Regions from separate parts of the Homo sapiens genome. Here region 2 is linked to region 1. The links are contacts of gene promoters, found by promoter capture Hi-C in blood cells and fetal thymus (Javierre and others, 2016). All regions are on one chromosome and are shown on one strand. The core of a region is centred on a gene start or on the middle of the fragment in contact, and the rest is flanking DNA. Distances in the headings are between cores, read along the strand shown. Region 1 holds the start of FAM50B (family with sequence similarity 50 member B). Region 2 overlaps SLC22A23 (solute carrier family 22 member 23).

The links. The method cuts DNA at HindIII sites, captures the fragments that hold promoters and counts their contacts. A CHiCAGO score of 5 or more calls a contact.
Region 2: a contact is called between a fragment that was not itself captured here and the fragment with the promoter of FAM50B in region 1, in 1 of 17 cell types (M2 macrophages). The highest score is 6.2, in M2 macrophages.

What each region holds. Positions count from the first base shown.
Region 1 is chr6:3,846,119-3,850,957 of GRCh38, reverse strand. It overlaps FAM50B (family with sequence similarity 50 member B), which reads right to left and starts at 1,585. Exons shown (of 2, transcript NM_012135.3): 1 at 1,472-1,585; 2 at 1-1,169. The coding sequence starts at 1,146. The coding sequence ends at 169. LOC107986557 (a long non-coding RNA gene) reads left to right here and starts at 1,592. Exons shown (of 3, transcript XR_001743931.2): 1 at 1,592-1,642; 2 at 2,309-2,569. RefSeq lists an enhancer at 1,402-1,521 and a silencer at 1,792-1,911. The HindIII fragment of the contact is 3,705 bases long and covers 1-3,488 here.
Region 2 is chr6:3,295,428-3,300,065 of GRCh38, reverse strand. It overlaps SLC22A23 (solute carrier family 22 member 23), which reads left to right. Exons shown (of 10, transcript NM_015482.2): 5 at 1,848-1,975. Among named protein-coding and RNA genes, the nearest start is that of PSMG4, 39 kb to the right of the region's middle. RefSeq lists an enhancer at 2,861-3,361. The HindIII fragment of the contact is 1,465 bases long and covers 1,601-3,065 here.

The DNA.
Region 1 (4,839 bases), core at 336-2,835:
AACCAAAGCATAACATCAGCAATAGCACAACCAATGTGAATCATGAGAACCCTCTGTCTTTATTAAATTTGGGGGAAGAAATCAAGGTCACGAAATCAAGTGACTGGTGATGGGGCCTAGAAATGAGTGTCTCCCCCCACCCCCGGTTTCCGCTCTGGCAGGCGGGTGTTAGCGGATGGTGTACTTGTCCCACTTCTTCTCGGGGTCATAGGCCTCCCAGCGGCTGGCGGGGAAGATGTGCTTGTTCTTCTCGTACCAGCTGCGCAGCACCACCTTGCCCGCGTGCGACTCGTCCTTCTCCATGGTGGCGTCGCTGAGCAGGCGCACGTCATCGTGCACATCGAAGCTGAAGAGCGGCCCGCTCTTGCCCCTCGCCCTGGCGATGATGAAGTCGTAGAAGGTGTGGTAGTGCGGCAGGATGAGGTCCTCCTTGATGAACATGAGCTGCTCCACGCCGGCGGAGCGCAGCTCCAGGAAGTCCTTGCGCAGCCCCTGCAGCGCCTTCTTCAGGAACTGCTGCACCGTGTTGCCCTTGCGCACCCGCACCGTGCGCCGGTGGCCCGAGCCGTCCCAGTAGCTGAAGGTGACCTCCATCTCCTCGTCCTTCACTTTCTCGCGCTGCGCCTCCCACTCTTGGCGCAGCTCCTCTCGGAGCCGGTTCTCCTCCTCCTCGCGGTCGCGGTCTGGCAGGAAGCTGGTGTCCACGTCGGGGTTCTTGCCCAGGTTTCCGGCGCGCCTGGCCTCGGCCGCGTCGGCCTGGTCATCGAGGTCGTCTAGTGCAAAGGACAGGCAGGAGATCTTACGCTTGCGCTCGCGCCGCTGCTCCTGCTCCCGCTGCCGCTCCTGCTGCAGCCGCTGCTCCTCCAGGTGCTGGCGCTTGGCCAGCTGCCGCTCGCGCTCCCTGACCAGGGCCTCCTGCCGGGCCTTCATGTCGTTCAGGGTCACCAGGCCCACCGTGCTGGACTTCAGCTCGGCCTCCACGGCGTCGTAATGCGCCGAGAACCTCTTGTCCACCTGCGACTTGAGGATGGTCTCCTCGGCGATGCGCTGCTTCAGCACCTCCATCTGCTCCCGCTGCCTTTCGCGCTTCTTGAGGAGGTGCATGGCACGGCCTGCCTCGCGCATGGTGCCCTTGTACTGCGCCATGGCCCGCGCCTACCCGATGGGCTCTGCAGCAAAGAGGAAAAACGCGGCAGGTAGAGGGGGGCCCACGCAACGGCGGGGAATGCTCAGCTCTGCGCCTCCTCACAGGGCTTTCGGCAGTGATGGAAGCGTTCAGGGGCTGGGCCGACCTGCTAGGGTAACCACCAACCTGACAGTGTCACCAGGCACCAATTTCCAGCATTTTATTTGACCTCAATAAATGCAAATGCGAACGGCCCCACGTAACGGGTGGCTGCCATGCCTGAGCGCAGCGCTGAATTTGGGGAGCTGCATACAGAGAGGGTTGGGCTACTGAGCGGACCCTTACCTGCCCAAGCACCCTGTCGAGCGGAGACACGCGGGAGCTGACCTCCACGAGAACCACCCACGAGCAGAGGCCCACTCGCCCCGGGCTCTCGCGACAGCCGTGGACACAGGAAGTGGAGGCGGTGCGCCCCCTGGCGGGGAGGCGGGCCCTGAGGAGAGTGCCAGGCTCCTGGTAGGGCGGCTGCGGAAACAGGAAGTGGAGGTGGATCGCCCCCTGGCGGGGAGGCGGGCCCTGGGAAGAGCTCCGGGCTCCTGGTAGGGGCGGTGCTCCTGTGGGGCGGGCCAGCGCGGGGAGGATCCTGGAGGAGGCGCTTCTGGCCCTGCCCAGCCGTGGCTGGCCGGGGCTCCTGTTTTCACGCTGTGGGCAGGGCGGGCCCCCACCTGCTGTGCGTGCGTGCTGAGCCTTCTCGTGCCCAACTGTAAACACGCAGAAGCAATGTGGGCGCAGCGCAAGCTGCTGTGGCCACCCAGAGAGCCTTGCAACACGGCCCTGCTCTCCAACCCTCCTCCTCCCGCCTCTGATGCTACCCCGCTGTGGCGTCTCGTGAACATTACCTGCGCACCACTGCCTGTAATTCTTTCTTATGGCCCCAACACAACCATTCTTTGATAATAGAACCCTACTCGCCCCCCAGTTTCGTGACAAAACCTGCACTCAGCTTGTTTGACCTCTTCTATACAGCAGTTTCCCCCGGGTTCTAAGCTCTAATAACCATGGGACACTGAGTTAAAGTGTAGCAGTGTCTTTACTGTGAGCCTCTAACATGCCAGTTTCCACTGTAACTCTCCAAGAGCAGGGCAGACCAGTTCATGTTTCGTGACCGTTTCTCCCCTGCAGGAGATCTGGTAACACTCGCCGAAACCAGTGCTTCCTGGGACCTAGTTTGGAAAAGCTGGTTGTGAAATACATACTGCGGTTCAGCCTCCTCCCGCCTAAGAGCAACAATGCCTGTGAGCATAACCTTACCAAGAAGCGTGAATCATATGATAATTACATATGGCACCCACATATCCAGAGGAGAACAGCACGGTGTGAGCCCTCATCAAATTGTCCAAGCCAGAAACCTAGGCCTTTTCCTGGAATGACGTTCCTCCACAGGTAATCAATTACAGAAGAGCCTTTCACACTTTCCTTTTTCTCCCATTCCCCACCACTTGCCTTAATCTAGGAAATTAGCATTTTTTTTAATCTAAAGCCTTCTCATTGTTGCCCCATCACCAGAATACAAGAATATCTTATTTTATTGAGCTCTGGGATACTGTGTGTTTTGTTTTTGTTTTTACAAATTGAAGATTTGTGGCAACACAGCGTCAAGCGCCTACTGGCTCCATTTTTCCAGCAGCATGTGCTCACTTCGTGTTCCTGTGTCACATTTTGGTAATTCTTGCAATATTTCAGACTTTTTCATTGTGATATCTGCTATGGTGATCTGTGATCATCGTTCTGTGAGGTTATTGTAATTGTTTGGGGGCACTCCGAAGTGTGCAGTAGAAGACAAAGACGTTTATTGATTTAACTGATAAATGTTATGTATGTTCTGACTGCTCCACTGACTGGCTGTTCCTTCATCTCTCTTCCTGTCCCTAGGCTTCCCTAGTGCCTGAGACACAGCAATATTGAAATTAGGCCAATTAATAACCCTACAATGGCCTCTAAGTGTTCAAGTGAAAAGAAGTGTCACACGTCTCTCACTTTAAATCAAAGGCTAGAAATGATTCAGCTCAGTGAGGAAAGTATGTCAAAAGCCAGGATAGGCCAAAAGCTAGGCCTCTTTTGCCAAACAGTTAGCTAAGTTGTGAATGCAAAGGAAAAAAATCTTGAATGAAACTGAAAGCGCTTTCCTGGTAAACATATGAATGATAAGAAAGCAAAACAGCCTTATTGCTTATATGGAGAAAGTTCTAGTGGTCTGGATAGAAGATCAAACCAGCCACGACATTCCCTTAAACCAAAGCCTAATCCAGGGCAAGGCCCTAAGTCTCTTCAATTCTGTGAAGCTGAGAGAGGTGAGGAAGCTTCAGAAGAAAAGTCTGAAGGTAGCAGAGGTTGGTTCATGAGGCTGAGGAAGGAAGTCACCTCTATAACATAAAGTGCAAGGTGAAGCAGCAAGTGTGATGGAGAAGCTGCAGCAGGTTATCCAGAAGATCTAGCTAAGAGCACTGATGACGGAGGCTACCCTAAACAATACATTTTCAATGTAGACAAAATAGCCTTCTATTGGAAGAAGATGCCATTTAGGACTTTTATATCTAGAGAGGAGAAGTCAATGCCTGGCTTCATGGCTTCAAAGGACAGGTTGACTCTCTTGCTAGGGGCTAGTGTAGCTGGAGACTTTCAGTTGAAGCCAATGCTCACTTACCATTCTGAAAATCTTAGTGCCCTTAAAAATTATGCTAAATCTACTGTGCCTGTGCTCTGTAAATGGAACAACAAAACCTGGAGGACAGCACATCTGTTTACAGCATGGTTTACTGAATATTTTTAAGCCCAGTGTTGAGACTTACTGCTCTGATTATTCCTTTCAAGATATTATTACTCATTAACAATGCACTTGGTCACCTAAGAGCTTGATGGAGATGCTCAAGGAGATTAAAGTTGATTTCATGCTTGCTAACACAACATCCATTCTGCAACCCATAGATCAAGGAGTAATTTTGACTTTTAAGTCTTATTATTTAAGAAATACATTTCCAAAGGTTATAGCTGCTGTATGTAATGATTTCTCTGATGGATCTGGGCAAAGTAAATTGAAATTTTTCTGGAAGGCATTCACCACTGTAGGTGCCATGAAGGACATTCACAGTTTTTGGGAGGAGGTAAAATATCAACATTAACAGAAGTTTGGAAGAAGTTGATTCAAACAGCATTACATGTTACAAAGAAATCTTTCGTGAAAGGTAGAATCAATCAATGTGACAAACTCAATATTGATTTAAGAAACTGCCACAGGCCCAGCCTTTGGCAACCACCACCCTGATCAGTCAGCAACCATCAACACTGAGGCAAGACCCTCCACCAGCAAATAGAGCACAGCTCACTGAATGCTCAGAGGATCATTAGCATTATTTAGCAATTAAGTATTTTTAATGAAATTATGCACATTATTTTCTTAGACAAAATGCTACTGCACACTTACTAGACTATAGTATAGTATAAACATAACTTTTATATGCACTAGAAAATTTAAAAATTTGTGTGACTGTCTTTGTGGTGGTCTGGAACTGAACCCACAGTATCTCCGAGGTATGCCTGTATTCTTGTTCTTGTCTAACTTCTATACAATATCCTCAGAGATCTTCATAAAAAATGAATCTGATAACATTACTCTCCTACTTGAAAAACTCCAACTTCCCTTGTAACAGCCACAT
Region 2 (4,638 bases), core at 1,084-3,583, 550 kb after region 1:
GCACTCCAGCCTGGGTGACAGAGCAAGACTCCATCTCAAAAAAAAAAAAAAAAAAAAAAAAAAAAAAGTCTATCCTGAGCTTGCAAAGCAGGTGTTCGGTACTTACAATAACTTCTTACCAGCATCAGTCGTGACTTTCCTGATACAATTTAACTAAAATAAAGTGGAGTGATAACTAGAACACTGAGGGCTACAAGAAGCTAGGACTGTCATCTTGAGCTTTGATTTCTACTTTTTGTCTCTCCCAAACAGTCAAGGGTCAGCTGCCTGTTTTGCAATAAAGTATTATTAGCCCATAGCCACACCCACTCCCATACATCCACACTCAGGCCACAAGGCCAAGATGAGGAGAGACCATTTCACCCTCAAAGTCTAAAATATTGATGACTTGGACTTTTGCAGAGATAGCGTGCCAACTCCTGCTCTGCGCAGTCACGGTGTTCTCTTTGAGCAGCTTGTAAATATTGTCATAAATGTAAATTTATAAAATTAATTGATAATAAAACACTAGTTTTTTTGTATTGGGGCTCCTCACAAGATTCCATCTTTTAAAAAAAGAAAAAGATTCTGTCGCTTTGGTAAAACTCGAAAACCACTGCGTTGTGGCATCGTCTGAGGGACAGTGACAGGCGGTTAGCAGTAACGTGGAAATAGCTCTGAAGGAAACCCCGGGACAGTGAGCCTTCAGGTTCCGAAACTGAAAATAACTGCAGGTTGGTCATATTTGGAAGTAATTTTTTAAACGTAAAATCATTCTATTACTATTTATTGTGACAAAATACAACAAAATCAGCAGGCTTCCGTGAATTGTTTCTCCATGCTTTAGAAATCTATGGTTACTTTGAAAGGTATACACTGATTTCTTGACACAGCTGGTAGAATGTTGTTCATATCCGCTACTCTGTTACATTTGTTAAATTATTTTTTTATTTTTGTAATTGACACATAGTAATCGTACATATTTATGGGGTACACAGTGATGGTGCAGTACATAGAATGTAAAATGATCAGATCAGGGTAATTAGCATGCCCATCATCGCAAATATCACTTTTTTGTGTGTTGGGAACATTTTTTTTTTTTTTTTTTGAGACGGAGTCTCGCTCTGTCGCCCAGGCCGGACTGCGGACTGCAGTGGCGCAATCTCGGCTCACTGCAAGCTCCGCTTCCCGGGTTCACACCATTCTCCTGCCTCAGCCTCCCGAGTAGCTGGGACTACAGGCGCCCGCCACTGCGCCCGGCTAATTTTTTGTATTTTTAGTAGAGACGGGGTTTCACCTTGTTAGCCAGGATGGTCTCGATCTCCTGACCTCATGATCCACCCGCCTCGGCCTCCCAAAGTGCTGGGATTACAGGCGTGAGCCACCGCGCCCGGCCGGGAACATTTAACATCCTCCTCCTAGCTATGTGAAACTGTATATTATTAGTAGCTATGGTCATCCTACAGTGGCGTAGAACATTAGAACTTGTTCCTCCTACCTAGCTATAATTTTGTATCCTTCAACCAACCTCTCCCTATCCCCAGTTTCCCCCCACCCTTCCCAGCCTCTAGTATCCTCTGTTCTTCTTTTTACTTCTATGAGATCACTTTTTTTTTAAGCTTCCATACGTGGGTGAGAACATGTGGTTAACTTTTGTTAAGCATTTTTAAGGTCTTGATTTTTACTCTTTGGAAAAGAAAACTGGGAACGTTTCAGTGCCCACAGTTTTATCTCCCCTGATTGGGCTGATGCGTGTCTGGAGACTGACCGCCACCTGCCTGGGAAGCTCCCGGGCCACACCTAAGCCACACTTCCCGGTGCCGTGCAGAATCGGAAGACATTCACTGATCCCCTTTGTGTCTTTAAAGGATATTCCCCGAGTCCCTCCGGTGGCTAATGGCCACCCAGCAGTTTGAGTCTGCAAAGAGGCTGATCCTCCACTTCACACAGAAGAATCGCATGAACCCTGAGGGCGACATCAAGGGTGTGATACCAGGTGAGCACACCGCGGGCTGGCAGGGCTCAGAGAGGCTCCACGGGGCAGGTCCCTGACACCTGGGCTGGTTTTGTTGCACAAACAGCTGTTTTAACCAGCTGTGCAATTCTCCTGTGACCTTTTGGCCTGCACAAGGGCAATGTGGCAACCTTGACATTCTCTCCATTTTCTAGGTGTTGGTTTCTTTCATGATCAAGTCCAGCACACTCTGGATCTGCTCATCTCCTGTCTAAATGCAGAAGCGAGCCATGAGCCCAATATACACTGCTCAAGGGAATATCTGGCTGTCTGGCCCATAGCCTACCTGCCTGCCAGGTCTAAACACTGCCAGAGCGCTGGCTCAGGGTGTAGATGGCCCCTGTGACCTCAGCTTTCCTGAGCATGACCTTCAGAGAGCCACCATTGTCTTTACCTGGCCATGACCTATTTGTTGGGCAGCTGAAGACAGGAAAGGTGAAGTGTTTTTGGATAGTCGTTCAGATCCATAGAATTCCTGCGTGTCAGGAGCGTTACCACAGCTAGGTGGGGGTTCTCAACCTGGGGATCCACGTATCACCAGGAGGTTGTTAAAATCCAGATTCCTGGGCCTCTCCCTGGCACCTGGAGATCCTGACCTGTTAGATTTGGGATAAGCCCTGAGAACTTGCATTTCTAATAAGCACTAGAAGAGATTCTGATGCAAGTGGTATACAGATTTCCGTTTGAAGATCACTGGTGGTCTCGGCCCAAGCTCTGACTCACTGCCCTCACTGAAGACCTGGGATAAATTGTTGCTATAAAATTCCCTGGGAAAATAACCTCCAGGCCATCGTCCAAGAGAGAATATGCTCATTTTCCCCCCTGACCAGAAATGCTTGTGATCATGATTCATTCAGTAAACCAACACGTGTTTACTAGATGCCTGCTGTGTTTCAGGCGCTATTCTAGAGCAGAGAAGACACAGGCAAAGCCTTGCTCTCACGTAACTTGCAGGCAGGTGGGGCACACAGACAGGGAAGTTACACGTGCATACGTCAGGAGGGATGAAACAGCAGGGCTGTGGGATAGAGGGTGGCAGGGAGGGACTACAGTCAGAGTGGCTGCGGAAGCTTTGCTCCAGGGGCACAGGTGCAGGGGCCTGAGTGAGGTGGGAGAATGTGCCCTGCAGGTATCCATTTACGATGGGAAGGGATGCACGGGAACCCCAAATCAGAGAAGCCCTTGGTACCTGGACAGGCCTCTCGTTAGACTCCCAGTTCAGAAGATCGGGGACACTAGGTCACTAGAAGCTCCTTGGTGCTGCCGTAGCTCAGCCAGGATGTCACCCTCTGCCTCAACTTGTGCAGGGCCGTGAGAGTCAGGTCACCCAGGCTGGACCACGTGCTGGGTGGGGTGGGGCCTACCCAGGGACGCCTGAAGCTTTTGCTTCGCTGGACAGAAGAAGGACATGAGCCAGGTCTGGTTGACATGAAGGGTGCTGAGTGCTGGTGCATCTGTGGTCCCTTTTTATCCAGGGACAGTGACGAGAAACACGATGACACTCACATGGCACTCACATTTCAGCTCCTTTTCTAAGTGATTTGCAAATATTAATTCATATTTAATATTTAGCCCCCAAGTGCTTCACGTGTATTATTTCTCCATGACAGCCTATGAGAGAGGCACTATAATTAGCCCCGTTTGCCGATGAGGAAACGGGAGCACAGAGAGGCTAAGCAGCTTCCAGAGGTCACACAGCTGCTAAGAAGTTGAGCGAGGACTTGTCCAGCAGGGGTGCAAAGTCCAGCAGGGGTGGCTTTGCCACGCTGCTCTAACATGAGGGAGAGCTCTGGATAGATACAAACTTCCCTGCGCTGAGTAGTGAGTACTCAATCCAGGTTTCTCCAGCGGGGCCATGCTTGCTCGTTTTGGACGGTCCAGATGGCTTTCCCAGATTTCCCCAGACCTCACTCGTTAGCAGGTTAATGCTCTTAGGCTTACAGTACAATTTGTTTGTGGCATTTCCCTAATTAAGTCATCACACTCTGCTTCTTTCACGTTAAAATATTGTCTGGGAATAGCTTGTTTTCTCAAATCCTAATTACACTGATTCATTTCCCTCCTATATTTGGAAAGTGGTATTAGATCCTTTTTAAAAATTTATTTCTTTGCTTATGAGTTTTGCTGGTGCTTATTTCCTTTCCAGAGTCCCAGGCAGGAGGCTGGGTGAGAGGCAGTTGGTGACATGTGACTTAACAAAGAGGATAGAGGCTTCACCTCCTTGGGGAGCGGTCCTCAGGTGGTGGCTCTGCCCCGCAGCCCTTCACAGTGGACTCTGCTCTCTTCCACCCCCAGCTGTCAGATGTGTTGATGGCAGCACGATTGGCAGGGCTGCTGAGTGTGGGGGAAGGCAGCGTGTCTTTCAGTTGCTACATCTCCCACTTCCAGCTTCCTCTGCCCAGGCTCAGTTTTCTGCATGGAATCTTCCTCCCATCACCCCATCTAATCCCACAGCCAACACCTGCTCCGAGCCTCGTGTCTGTCACCCTCTCGCGCCCTGGCCGGCTGGCTGGGCTCCCAGCTTTGTTCCATCCTCCCTGCCACCAGGTCACACATGATCTGATCACATCACCACCGGCTTCAAGCCTCTCCAGTGCCTCCCAGTGCCTTTCGGGTAGACCCCAGGTCCTCCAGGCCACTGCAGA